Regions from separate parts of the Homo sapiens genome. Here regions 1 and 2 are each linked to region 3. The links are contacts of gene promoters, found by promoter capture Hi-C in human tissues and cell types (Jung and others, 2019). All regions are on one chromosome and are shown on one strand. Each heading gives the region's core, a stretch centred on a gene start or on the middle of the fragment in contact. The rest is flanking DNA. Distances are from core to core; before and after follow the strand shown. Region 1 holds the start of SNAPC4 (small nuclear RNA activating complex polypeptide 4). Region 2 overlaps SEC16A (SEC16 homolog A, endoplasmic reticulum export factor). Region 3 holds the start of LCNL1 (lipocalin like 1).

Region 1 (3,652 bases), core at 554-3,053, 580 kb before region 3:
AAAATCCTTTCCAGCTCCTTGATCTCCTGTGTTATCTTCTCTCTTTCAGCATCTACATCCATGACTCCCGCCTGCCTCCAAAACACACCCCGAGATGTTAGAAACCAAGACCGTGCCGGGATCCCATTCTCCTTCAGACACACCCGCCCATGGGGGATGGCAGGAGCCTGCTCGGCAGTGGGCACTGGGCTCCCCAGAGAAAGATTAATAGGCCAGGCACAGAATCGGGGAACCCTGGGACAGGAACCTCAGACCCCACAAACTCCTGCTATGTGCTCTGCCAGGAGCCTAAGCCCCAAGAACATCTCCCGCCTGCTCTGAGGCTGCAACCAGCACAGGCAGGGAGTGGATGAACAAGGACAGGCCCCACTGTCCCGTCTCTGCTCCCACACCAAGCCACATGGAAACTGGCCACCCAGCGTAGAAGGTGTGGGGTGCAGTGGCAAAGTCACTACAGGGCAAGGACACAGCCCGTGACCCACTTTGGCCATCCTGCTCTCCCATGACACAGAGCCGGACCACAGAGGGCATTTGAGAAACGTTCACAGAGACACACACTGAGACTGCCCAGGTGGCAGGCACTAACAGCATGGTTGGGAAGGAAGCTCCCAAAGGGAAGGCTGGCTGTTCTCTGTACATCCAGAACAACGCCTGGAACGTGGCAGTGCCTGACACTAACAAATGTTTGTCAAGCTTTTTTCTTAGGAACTGTGGTCCAGGAAGTCTGAAGGGAGAAGGACGCTAGAGAGAGAGTGGGAGAATGAAACATTAGCAGAGAAAATCTAAAGGAATCACTAGCACAGACCCGGGAGCCCAAAACACCCAACAACAAAGAGAAACGCCCTCCCCCGTCCTTGGCGTGGCTCTCCCTGCTGGAGGCTGACTGGGGCCCTGCCCAACTGGAACAAAACCAAAGCATCCACCCGCGAGCACCGTTAGCCGCATCAGCAGCCCAGGTCCCCTCACTCCTTCACAAAGCCCCTTGTTTATGCCCGAAATGCTTGTGAACCTGTAAACTCAGTTAACAGCCGGCCAGAGGCAGAGCTGGCAGCGACCGCAGGCTGGTTCAGCGCCTCCGGGCCGGCGGAGACGCTTTCCTCTGGAAGCCTCACACGAGGCTGCTGCCTCCCCCTCCCCGTGTCGCTCAGGTGAGCAATGATCAGCAGGAAGGAGGTCAAAGTCACACGTGCTGAGCCACTGACATCAGGGGCTGTCCCTCTCCCCGCACCCCTCTCCCAAGGGCTGGTCATGAGGGCTGCCCACCAAGACGGAGCGCAGCAGGCGGTCCCTCCAGCCCCAGCTGCGGGGACGCCACCCAGACTCGGCTGGGCCCAGGGAACCCCAGGATGCGCCAGGACGATGGGCGTTTAGGCACTGGCTTGGGAGACAGACCCGGCCCAGGCCCAGTTCCGCCTCCTGCTCGCTGCGTGAACTGGGGAAACCCCCTCCGAGGCTCGGCCACCGCGGAATCGCCGGCGCAGTCCCCGAGACGCACGCGGGCGCCCTGCAGCCGGGGCCGCCCCGCCGGAGCCTCCTCGGAGCCCGCAGCCCGCTCCCAGCCGAGGGGCTCCCAGGGCCAGAATCCCCGCGCGCCCAGGCTCGGCCGGACGGGGGCCACGCCGGGCCTCAGTTTCCCCGACTTTGGGCGCTGCCCCGCCCCCGTCCCGGGCCTCGGCTATCCGCTCCTCGGGACAGCGCCCCCTCCACGGGGAGAGCCCTGAAGCTGCCGACGCCACCCGCGCCTCACCTGCTGGGCGCACACCTTACCTGGCCGCGCGGACCCCGCCGTCGCCCGGGCGACTGCAGACTCGACGCTTCCGGCGGCTGCAGAACAAGAGCGCCGCGCGCCGGAAGTCCCGCCTCCTGAGGCGCGGGGCACGCCGGGACGGCCGCTGCGGCCTGCCGGGACTAGAGAGGCGAACGGCTCGATGCTGCCCTCGCGCGGCCGCCCTGGGGGCCGCCTCCGCGCGCTCTGGAGGGGCGCGGGTGGACGCGGGACCTCAAGGCAGGGGACAGACAGGGACAGGCACCCGGCCACCTGGTCACGATCCGGAAGACCGGCCCTTACTGGCTGTGACCTTCGGCCATCGCTGGACCTCTCTGTGCTTGTTTCATCCTCTGTTAACGGACATGTTGGGGTTTGGTTAAGCAACGGATGAGAAAGTCTACGTGAAAGGCTTTTTCCCCAGCCTGCCCTGCATGCTCAGGATCGCCGAGGCCAGGCCGATCTCCAGGCACGTGCAGGAGACTGAGGCCAGAGGGTGGGGGCCCGCACCACACAAACTCGCTTCCCTGGTCACCTGTGCACACCCTCTGGGGTCTCCTGGCCTGGAGAGCTGCCCCGGGGCCCTCCCCTAAGTGGGCATTCATTCCTTCAGGAACGTGCCAGGGCTAACTCGGCCGGGAGCTGGGCAGGGGCCTACAGTTCCTGGCTCCTGAGAGCTTCTAAGTATCGGTGCTGCAAAGACATCCTGGGCCCAGCCAGTTGAGGGGGCCTCCACTCCAGCCTGGGGTGAGCTAGGGGCATCAGCTGGAGAACTATAAAGAGGGTTTGCCCTGCCTACCTAGGAGGTGGGCTTTTGGTGGCAAAGGGCTAGGCCCAGGTGAGGCCAAACTGGGAGCTAGGGATTGGCAAGAAACAGATGGAGGGGATGGAACCAGGCGGCTGGGGGCTCCTCGAGCGCCTCGTTTCAGTCCCTGCATCGGGCTTGAAATCTGGAGGCAGAAGGCAGGCACTAAATACCGCGCCACAAATTGTATTTTTAAACTTCTTACTATCAAACGCTTCAAACACAGACATCAAAAGAGAGGGGTGCGCAAAACCCACATGCCCATCCCCACCGCGCTTCCCTGGGCCCCACCTGCTCCATGAGCTGCTGGCATGAGGGCCAGGGGACCACCCCACTTCACACGCATCTGGTGGATGGGACCCGCCTGGCGATCTGGCCTTTGTGACCCCCACCCCATCAAATGCTGTCTCTCCCAAAGGGCCTCAGGGAAGGCCTGTGGCCTGAGGCATCCTCCCCAGATGCCCCCATCCTGCTGCTACAGGGCTCCCAGAGCTGCCTATACACTCAGAACCTCATTCCGGCACTTCCCAACCACAGCACCCTGTCTCAAGTCAGCTCTGCCAACAGAATCCAGAGCCTGCTTTCACCAACCAGCAGGAGCAGGAGGCGCATAGGGCTACGCAGCAGGACCGCTCCACAGTGACTGCTGGAAAGCTCTGGCCTTCACCTGTAGCTAAGGCTAGGGGTCTAGCAATTCAGACGCCTTGTTTGAAAAATTCAACCACATGATCCGAAAAGATGATCCAATGCTAGAATCCAGTCTGTCCAGCTCTGAAACGTGCAGCTGCGTGACTCACACGTCCATCACGTGTGGGTCCCAGTGGTCAGGCCCAGGCAGCAGTGGTCTGAGTCTGCCCCTAACCCCAAGGGCTGAGGACCTGGAGAGAATCTGCCAGCACAAGGCACCAGTTAGGGCAAGAGCAAGTGAGGTGTGGAAGCCCACGGCGTTCTCCAAGGACTGGCTAAGTCAGCAGAGAAGAGACAGTGCGGTGAACTACAGAATTTATTAAATAAGAAAGCTATCAATTGGAACAGGAGGAAAAAAAAGTTTTAAAAAAAATCTATAGGAAAATAGTCAAAAA
Region 2 (3,574 bases), core at 163-2,662, 540 kb before region 3:
CCTGGCTGTCCAGAGTCCAGGGACAAGTGGTGGCCAGGCCTGGCCTACTGCATGGGACGCGGGGACCTCAGTTGCAGACAGCTGGCCAATGCAGGCATCCACTCTTGCTCCCTCGCAAAGCCTCATGGAGGGGAAAGCCAAGGAATTTTTGTAAAGGCACTAACCACATGGTAAAGGGAGCAGGACAATACCAAAATCGACTAGTCTGGATGCTGAAAAGCAGGTGACAGCCAGGGGCCAGCTTGGGGGCAGTGGTCCTGGGAGCCTCGGCCTCGTTTGTAGAGGACCAGGGCAGGAGTGCTGGGCCCCAGCCCAGGAAGCCTGCAGTCAAGAGTGTGTGAGGCTGTGAGGGCAGGCTGGGGTGACAATGGGGCTGAATCCCAAGAGGCCCCAGACCTTGGACCCCGCTCAGCTCCCCTACACTGGCAGCCAGTCTATACTCCACAGGCAAGGGAGAGGGGAGGAGAGACGAGGCTGAGGGAGGGAAACCACAGGAAACATTCTAGAACACTCCCCAGCTGAAGGGCATGCAGTCAGGCCCAAGGGGGCTGAGGGTGAAGCCCTCCAGGTCCCAGGGAAACGGACCCTGAAAGGGGCTGCAGGCAGAACGGCCCTGGGGTCTCAGCAACCACAGGCAGCAGGAAACCTAAGGCCACTTGCAGTTCTGAAGAAAGTGACTTTGGCCCAAGAATTCTACCAGCCAGCCAGATAGGCCGGAGGAGAAAGGCAGCTCCAGACGTGAAAGGCATCTCCCAAGTCACCCTGGGACCTTTCTGTCAAGAAGCTATTAGGAAAAAGAAATAAAAAACATACAAAAAAAGCAAGAGCTACCAGAGGATGTGTGTCACCAAGACAAACAGAGTAACTAAGAAAGGCAGCAACATAGGATTCCAAAGCTGGGGGACCCACTCCGGGGAGACCCGGGTGCCCGGGCCAAGGGAGGAGAGATCACGCTCGGCTCAGAGACCACGGGCTCCAGGAGAACAGAATAGCAGACGTGGCAGAGCTGGGGGCTGAATGAGGGATACACAAGTAGAAAGCCAAGCACATTTTACAAACTACAACCTAGGAAAAGGCAAAGCGAATACAGGAGCACGGAGGGCCTCGTGTCGACAGAGCTCCACACGGGAGCACGGCGGGCCTGGTGTCCACGCAGAGCTGAGCACGGTGGGCCTGGTGTCCACACAAAGGGAGAAATGGCAGCCGGGGAGGGCCCAGCCTGGCTCCTCACAGTGCCCTGTGGACTGCCACCCAGTAGGTGTGCAACTTTCATTCAGAAAAGAGAAGCTGGGCACGGTGGCTCAAGCCTGTAATCCCAGTGCCTTGGGAAGCCGAGGTGGGAAGATCGCTTGAGCCTAGTAGTTCAAGACCAGCCTAGGCAACAAGGTGAGACCGTCTCTACAAAACATAAAAAATTTGCCAGGTGTGCTGACCATGCCTGTAGTCCCAGCTACTCAGGAGGCTGAGGCAGGAGGATTGCTTCAGCCCAGGAAGTTATGGCTGCAGTGAGCTGAGATCAGAGATCGCACCACTGCACTCCAGCCTGGGCAACAGAGCAAGACCCTGTCTCAATAAATAAATAAATATATTTTTTAAAAAGAAAGAAAAAGAGGATCTAGGGCAGAAAGCTGCCATCACTGAGCAGCAGGGTCAGGTCGTCAGTGGGCGTGTTAGGGTCTCGTAGGGAAAGGTAGGAGTCACTCACCTGTGCCAGCTGAGCAGGGTTGTAGAAGGGCATGGCCCCGCTGGGAGGGCCCCCTGCAGCAGGGAGGTCGCCAGGAGCCTGAGAAGCACAGAGAAGTCACCTCAGCAGGGCTGCGCTGCACAGCAGCTGTCACTTCAAGTGCAGATACAGACACCGCTTCTGGGTGGGATTTACAGTACTTTTACATAAGCTACAGAAGCAGATCCAAGACACTTCTTGCAACACTGGATTTAGTTATTTAATGGTTCAGAGAAAAATGGTGAAAATCAAAGCAACGTGCAGAGCCAATGTTTTAAGCACCGGAACATGCAATGGGAAGGTGCACACAGCACTGAGGTGGCACCGAGCGTGCGAGGTGGTGAGGAGGTGCCCACGGCTGCAGCTCTAAGGCTCCAGCCATGACACGAGGCCCAGGGCTCTCATTTGCAGGCGGAAGGGTCGCTGCAAGCCTTTCTGCTGAGCCACGGCTGCAGCTGGTGCCTGGACAGGCAGAAGATGAAGCGTTCGTTCACCTCCCTCCCACATTGGCCGCAGGTCACTGCTGCACCCGCCCCGGCCTCAAACCAACGTTCTCATGCTTGATCAGAAAGGAGCAATCTTCCTTCCAAAGGAGAGCATCCTGACCGGGGAAACACTCACTCGGCGAGGCCACGACCCAGGCCCGTCATTGGAAAAACCAATTTGGAAAGAGCAAAATGACAGAACCCACTCATTGACTAGGACACCTCAGGGTCGATCCAGTTGCCCCATGTATGTGGAGACTGAACAGCAAAACCCCCTTTAAGGCCATTTAAAGGAACACTGCTGTAATCTCAGCACTTTGGGAGGCTGAGGCGGGCGGATCACCTGAGGTTGGGACCAGCCTGACCAACATGGAGAAACCCCGTCTCTACTAAAAATACAAAATTAGCTGGGCGTGGTGGCTCATGCCTGTAATCCCAGCTACTCAGGAAGGCCGAGACAGGAGGATGGCTTGAACCCAGGAGGTGGAGGTGGCGGTGAGCTGAGATCACACCATTGCATTCCAGCCTGGGCAACAAGAGCGAAACTCCGTCTCAAAAAAAAAAAAAAAAAAAAAAGGAACCCTGTACCCTTGGTCACGTGACGCTGAGGGAGACAACGGGCGAGGTTAGTGGCAAAGCGCACGTGGCGAACCGGCACCGCGTGCTCAGGAACACAGGCGGCACACGCCAGCTCTCATGTTAGTGAGGACCACCAGCCGCAGGTACCTGATTAAAATGCTGGCTCACTTCACGTGATAATGAACTCATTGAACTACAGCGCGAAAGCTACAAAACAGCAAGAACACACATAAAACACGGACGAAAGTCAACATGCACGTCACTGTCCAATCCAAGCTGTCAGTTCCATTTCAAAAGCTTTGTGATGCCATTAGAATCAACATAACTCAAAAGGGAAAAAAAAGCCAGTGTTAGCTTAAGATTCCTGTCTTAATGTAAAGCTGTTATCCCGAAACAACCATTAGCTTAGGGGAGGGCTGGGAGGAAAAGTCCAGCCTCGGCCTAAGCCAGCTTCACCTCCTGACACCTCACAATTCAAGACAATTCCCGTGCTGTTGAAGGGAGAGGACCGGGACTGAGGCGACAACTCAAACCCCCTGCACCCCTCCTGGAGCTCCCAAACAGTTTTGTTAAAACAAGTGCAATTTTTTTTCCCCCAGGAACACCACCTTCGAGGTGCTCTTGTTTCTAAACTGCCTCTTCCTACCCAGTACCGCCCCTCCATAAAGGAAGAGGCGCCTGGACAGTGAGCTGCTGGGGAGGCCTGGGCTGCGGGGGGCCCTGGCGTCGGCACTCCTTACCTCTCCTCCCTGGGAACCCTCAGGCCTGGAGGAGGGGAGTTCAGAGC
Region 3 (3,796 bases), core at 323-2,822:
CCAAGCCCCAGGGATGGATCTTGCTCTCTCAGCGGGGCTCAGTGGGGCTGGGGGCAGAGAAAAGTCCCCGTAGCCCGCACCTGCTCCATCGACTGGAGTGGAGGTGGGCTGGGGTAGACTGCAGTCCTCCATCCTAGCCTTTCGGTCACACCCCTCAGGACTCCCCAGGGCTGAAGCTGGGATCCCGGCCAGCCAGGTGACCCCCACGCTCTGGATGTCTCTGCTCTGTTCCTTCCCCGAGCCCCTGCCCCGGCTCCCCGCCAAAGCAACCCTGCCCACTCAGGCTTCATCCTGCACAATAAACTCCGGAAGCAAGTCAGTAGAGCTGGCTCCTGGCTGTCTGCGCTGTCATCACCCGTCCTGGGCCTGGCCCTGGCCACCCGGACCTCCCCCTCTAAAATCTCAGCCTGACGTCAACAAAGGAACAGGCCCTCTAGTGTTTGCTCCCAGTGGGGTCTTGAGTCAGGACAGCTAGGAGGGGGTGTCCCTCACTGTCTCCCACCCACCCCACACAGTCGTGTGCCCCTGCCCCACAGCCCCACACGTCGAGCCATACCCCCTCAGCTGCCACTGCCACCAGGCCGGTGCTGAGCTGGGGGTCAGTGACTCAGCTAATCCCTTAGGCAGGTGCCCTGCACCCCCAACGCCACCCTGTCACCCCCTCAGCAGTAAAGGCCTGAGGCTCGAGGCCCCAGAGGAGCTTTGGACCTGTTGGGTATCTTGAGGTGTGGGATTAACGCACTGAGATTGGGCAGAGATAAGGGTTTCAGGGGACAAAAAGAAACATTTGTTTGAAACATGCCAGAGTGTCTCCACCCCGCATCAGGACAGACTGACAGAGTGGGCTGGGGACAGGCTACCCCATATCCCTTCTGGCTCCCTGTGCGCCCCCTGCCCTCTGACCTGGGCCTCCAGATCACAGCCTTGTCCACTCACCAGAGCCCTGGCACCACGGCCACACCATGCCCGGCCAGTGCCCTGCCCAACCCTGCTCCCTTCCAGATTCCCACCCAGGCAGCCATTCTCAGGTACACAATGTGCAGGACTCACTGTGACCTGCCCACCAGGCCCCCCCGAGGCAGACCCTGCAGAGGCACCAAGCATTTTGAGGCTCGGAGGTGAGGGTGAGCTTCTGGGTGGCCTTCCCGGAGAAGGGGGCTTAGGGCTGTGCCTGAGCTCAAGGTAGGGGGGATTCCAACATCCCAGAGGGGCTGCAGAAGGCCGAAGAGGCAGGATGGGTGAGCTGCAGGCCCCCTAGCCCAGAGGCCCGTCAGAACTACCCTCAGCTGCCAGGCATCCGGCCCCACCCCGGAGGAAAGGCAACGGATGGCTGGGGTTGGGTGGAGGGAGCCAGGCCAGAGCGCTGCAGGGTGCAACTTGATCAGAAGCCTGTCACAGTGGGTGCAGTCCCAGGCCAGCCGCCCCAGGGCACCTCAGGGGCGTAAAGCCTACAGAGGAGCCACCTCAGCTCTGCCCTGCTCCCGTGTCCGGAGGAGATGCCATCTTGCTGCATGATGCTTCGGGCTCTGCTGATCAGTTCCCTCCTTGCCCTGCTCTGGGCATCCCCAGGCCAGGCCCAGGTCCCCATCCAGGCCAACTTTGATGCCAGCCAGGTGTGCCCAGCCCTGTTTCCTCCTCATCTCCAATGAGTCCTCCCGGCTTTGGTGCTGCACCCCGGGTCCCTGTCCACACCCTCTTTGATCCAGGCTCAGCAGGGCTAGGGGCAGGGGAAACCCCCACCTCACCCGCTCCGTCTGACTGGAGTAGGGGTTGGCTGGGGAAGACTGCAGCCTCCATCCTACCTTTTCAGTTGCATCCCCCAACAATCCCCAGGGCCCAAAATAGGGACAAGTTGGTTGCCTGTGCCTCACTGTCCCCCACCCACCCCACAAAGACCTGTGACCTTGCCACAGCCCCACCCATCCAGCCGTACCCCCTGGGTGCCAGCTGCAGACAGGCCGGTGCTGGGCTGGTGGGGGCCAGTTGCTCATGTACTGAGGCCCCCCTCCCTCAGTTCTGCATCGGGGTCGAGATGTGTACAGCAGCCCCTGCCGTGGCCAGGAAGCAGCTGTGTCGGGGCAGAATGTGGTGGGCTCAGGCCCAGGGCACAGGGGCGGCCTCCCAGCCTTCCCTGCACTTGCCCTGCAGTTCCAGGGCACCTGGTACATGGTCGGGGTGGTGTCAGATGACCAGGACTTCCTGGACTCCAAGGACACCATGAAGATGGCTGTGGTCTTAGTGACCCCCTTGGGGAATGGTGACCTGGCCCTCAAGTTTGGATACCCCACGTAAGTGACCACACGAGCCCATCAGACTCAGCCTCAGAGGATGGCCAGCATGAGGCCACATGAAGGTCCAGAGGGACCATGGTGTCCCCAGCACATTGAGGTCAGACCACGGGTCCTCGACGGCTCTGTGCGGCAGAGCCCCAGATGGCAGCCACACGGAGTCCAGAGGGACCCAGGCCCTGGAGGAAGCACTGCCTGAGGCCTGGTGTTGAGAAAAGTGTCTGCATGTCTGTGTCTGTGTGTGTATCACTGTATGTGGCTGTGTCTCTGTGTATGTGTGTCTATTTCTGCATGTGTGTGTGTCTGTGTGTGCGTGTGTATGCATGTGTGTCTTTGTAGATGTGTACCTCTGAGTGTGTATGTGTGTATCACTGTATGCGTCTGTGTGTCTGTGTGTCTGTGTATCTGTGTCTGGCTGTGTGTGTCTATCTCTGTGTGTGTCTTGTGTGCGTGTCTATGTGTGTGTCTGTCAGTGTGTCTGTGTCTGTGTCTATCTCCGTGTGTGTGCATGTGTGTATGTGTGTGTCTTCTGTGTGTCTGTGTCTGGAAGGGGGACCTGGAGGCCCTGCATTCTAGGCTGTGTGCCTGTGAACAGGTACTTAATACCCACCCCACCCCCAGCAGGAGTGTCCCCACCTCTAAGGTCATCCTAAAGTCCCATGTCCTCTAAGGATTGTGAGGGTGAACAGGGGACCCTGGGCTCAGAGACAGCAAGGTAGGCTCTAGGCCTGGGCGCTGGGCAGGGGTGGCCACTCAGGGGATTGGGGCTCTTTCTCCCCAGGCCCCATGGCGGGTGCCAGAAAATGGACACGACCTTCACCGAGGGTGCTGTACCGGGGCAGTTCAGCAACCCAGGTGAGGTGGGGCAGCAGGCAGGGCTGTGGCGTGGGGGCCCTGGAGGCTGCATGGACTGCTGGATTGGCACCTGGGGCCGGGGCGTGAGGGGTGCCACGCTCGGGGGGGAGGTGCCCTGGGCCTGGGGTCAGCGGCTCTCGCTCCTCCAGCCATGGCCCTGAGTGACATCCGAGTGGCCTTCTCCGACTACCAGCACTTTGCCTTGCTGTACTTGGAGATGCGGAAAGGGGGCCTGCGGAACCAGTGGCTGCAGCTCTACGGTGGGCGGGCTGCGGGGCGGAGACCCAGACACCCCCGCTTCGGGTCTGGGATGTCACCCCTGTGCCTGCACCAGCCCTTTCTGCACGCGGAAGGTGGAACCGCTGGCTCCTGGTGTCTGTGGCCGCGGGTCCCGGCCCCTCCCTGCCCCTCTCTCCCTCTCTTCGCCCCTCCAGCCCCTTCCCTTTAGCTTACCCGCCCTCCCCACCTTCAGCTCGAGCGCCCGAGCTGTTTCCCGAAGGCGCCCAGAAGATGCAGCTACTGGCGCCCCAAGTGGGCCTGAGCCCCAGCCAGGGCGTCCTGCTGCCGAAGTCGGGTGAGCGGTGCCGGCAGCCCTGCTGGGAGGGCCAGGCCCCGGGTCACACCCCTGCTGGAAGGGCCAGGCCCTGGTCACT

The links. Contacts are between HindIII fragments. The study calls those that stand out against the background at their distance.
Region 1: the fragment with the promoter of SNAPC4 here is called in contact with the fragment with the promoter of LCNL1 in region 3 in 2 of the 25 tissues and cell types used here (dorsolateral prefrontal cortex and spleen).
Region 2: a fragment that was not itself captured here is called in contact with the fragment with the promoter of LCNL1 in region 3 in 2 of the 25 tissues and cell types used here (dorsolateral prefrontal cortex and spleen).

Annotation. Positions count from the first base shown.
Region 1 is chr9:136,398,367-136,402,018 of GRCh38, forward strand. SNAPC4 (small nuclear RNA activating complex polypeptide 4) reads right to left here and starts at 1,804. Exons shown (of 24, transcript NM_003086.4): 1 at 1,768-1,804; 2 at 1-71. The coding sequence starts at 62. It overlaps ENTR1 (endosome associated trafficking regulator 1), which reads right to left. Exons shown (of 10, transcript NM_001039707.2): 10 at 3,556-3,652. RefSeq lists enhancers at 1-287, 2,017-2,953 and silencers at 1,462-1,571, 1,642-1,771, 1,842-2,051, 2,202-2,251. The HindIII fragment of the contact is 18,374 bases long and covers 1-3,652 here.
Region 2 is chr9:136,442,118-136,445,691 of GRCh38, forward strand. SEC16A (SEC16 homolog A, endoplasmic reticulum export factor) reads right to left here. Exons shown (of 32, transcript NM_014866.2): 29 at 3,528-3,574; 30 at 2,935-2,994; 31 at 1,706-1,783. Among named protein-coding and RNA genes, the nearest start is that of INPP5E, 4.1 kb to the left of the region's middle. The HindIII fragment of the contact is 6,254 bases long and covers 1-3,574 here.
Region 3 is chr9:136,981,421-136,985,216 of GRCh38, forward strand. It overlaps LCNL1 (lipocalin like 1), which reads left to right and starts at 1,573. Exons shown (of 3, transcript NM_207510.4): 1 at 1,573-2,288; 2 at 3,070-3,143; 3 at 3,293-3,796. The coding sequence starts at 2,167. The coding sequence ends at 3,591. PTGDS (prostaglandin D2 synthase) reads left to right here. Exons shown (of 7, transcript NM_000954.6): 7 at 159-322. RefSeq lists enhancers at 2,911-3,468, 3,469-3,796. The HindIII fragment of the contact is 9,863 bases long and covers 1-3,796 here.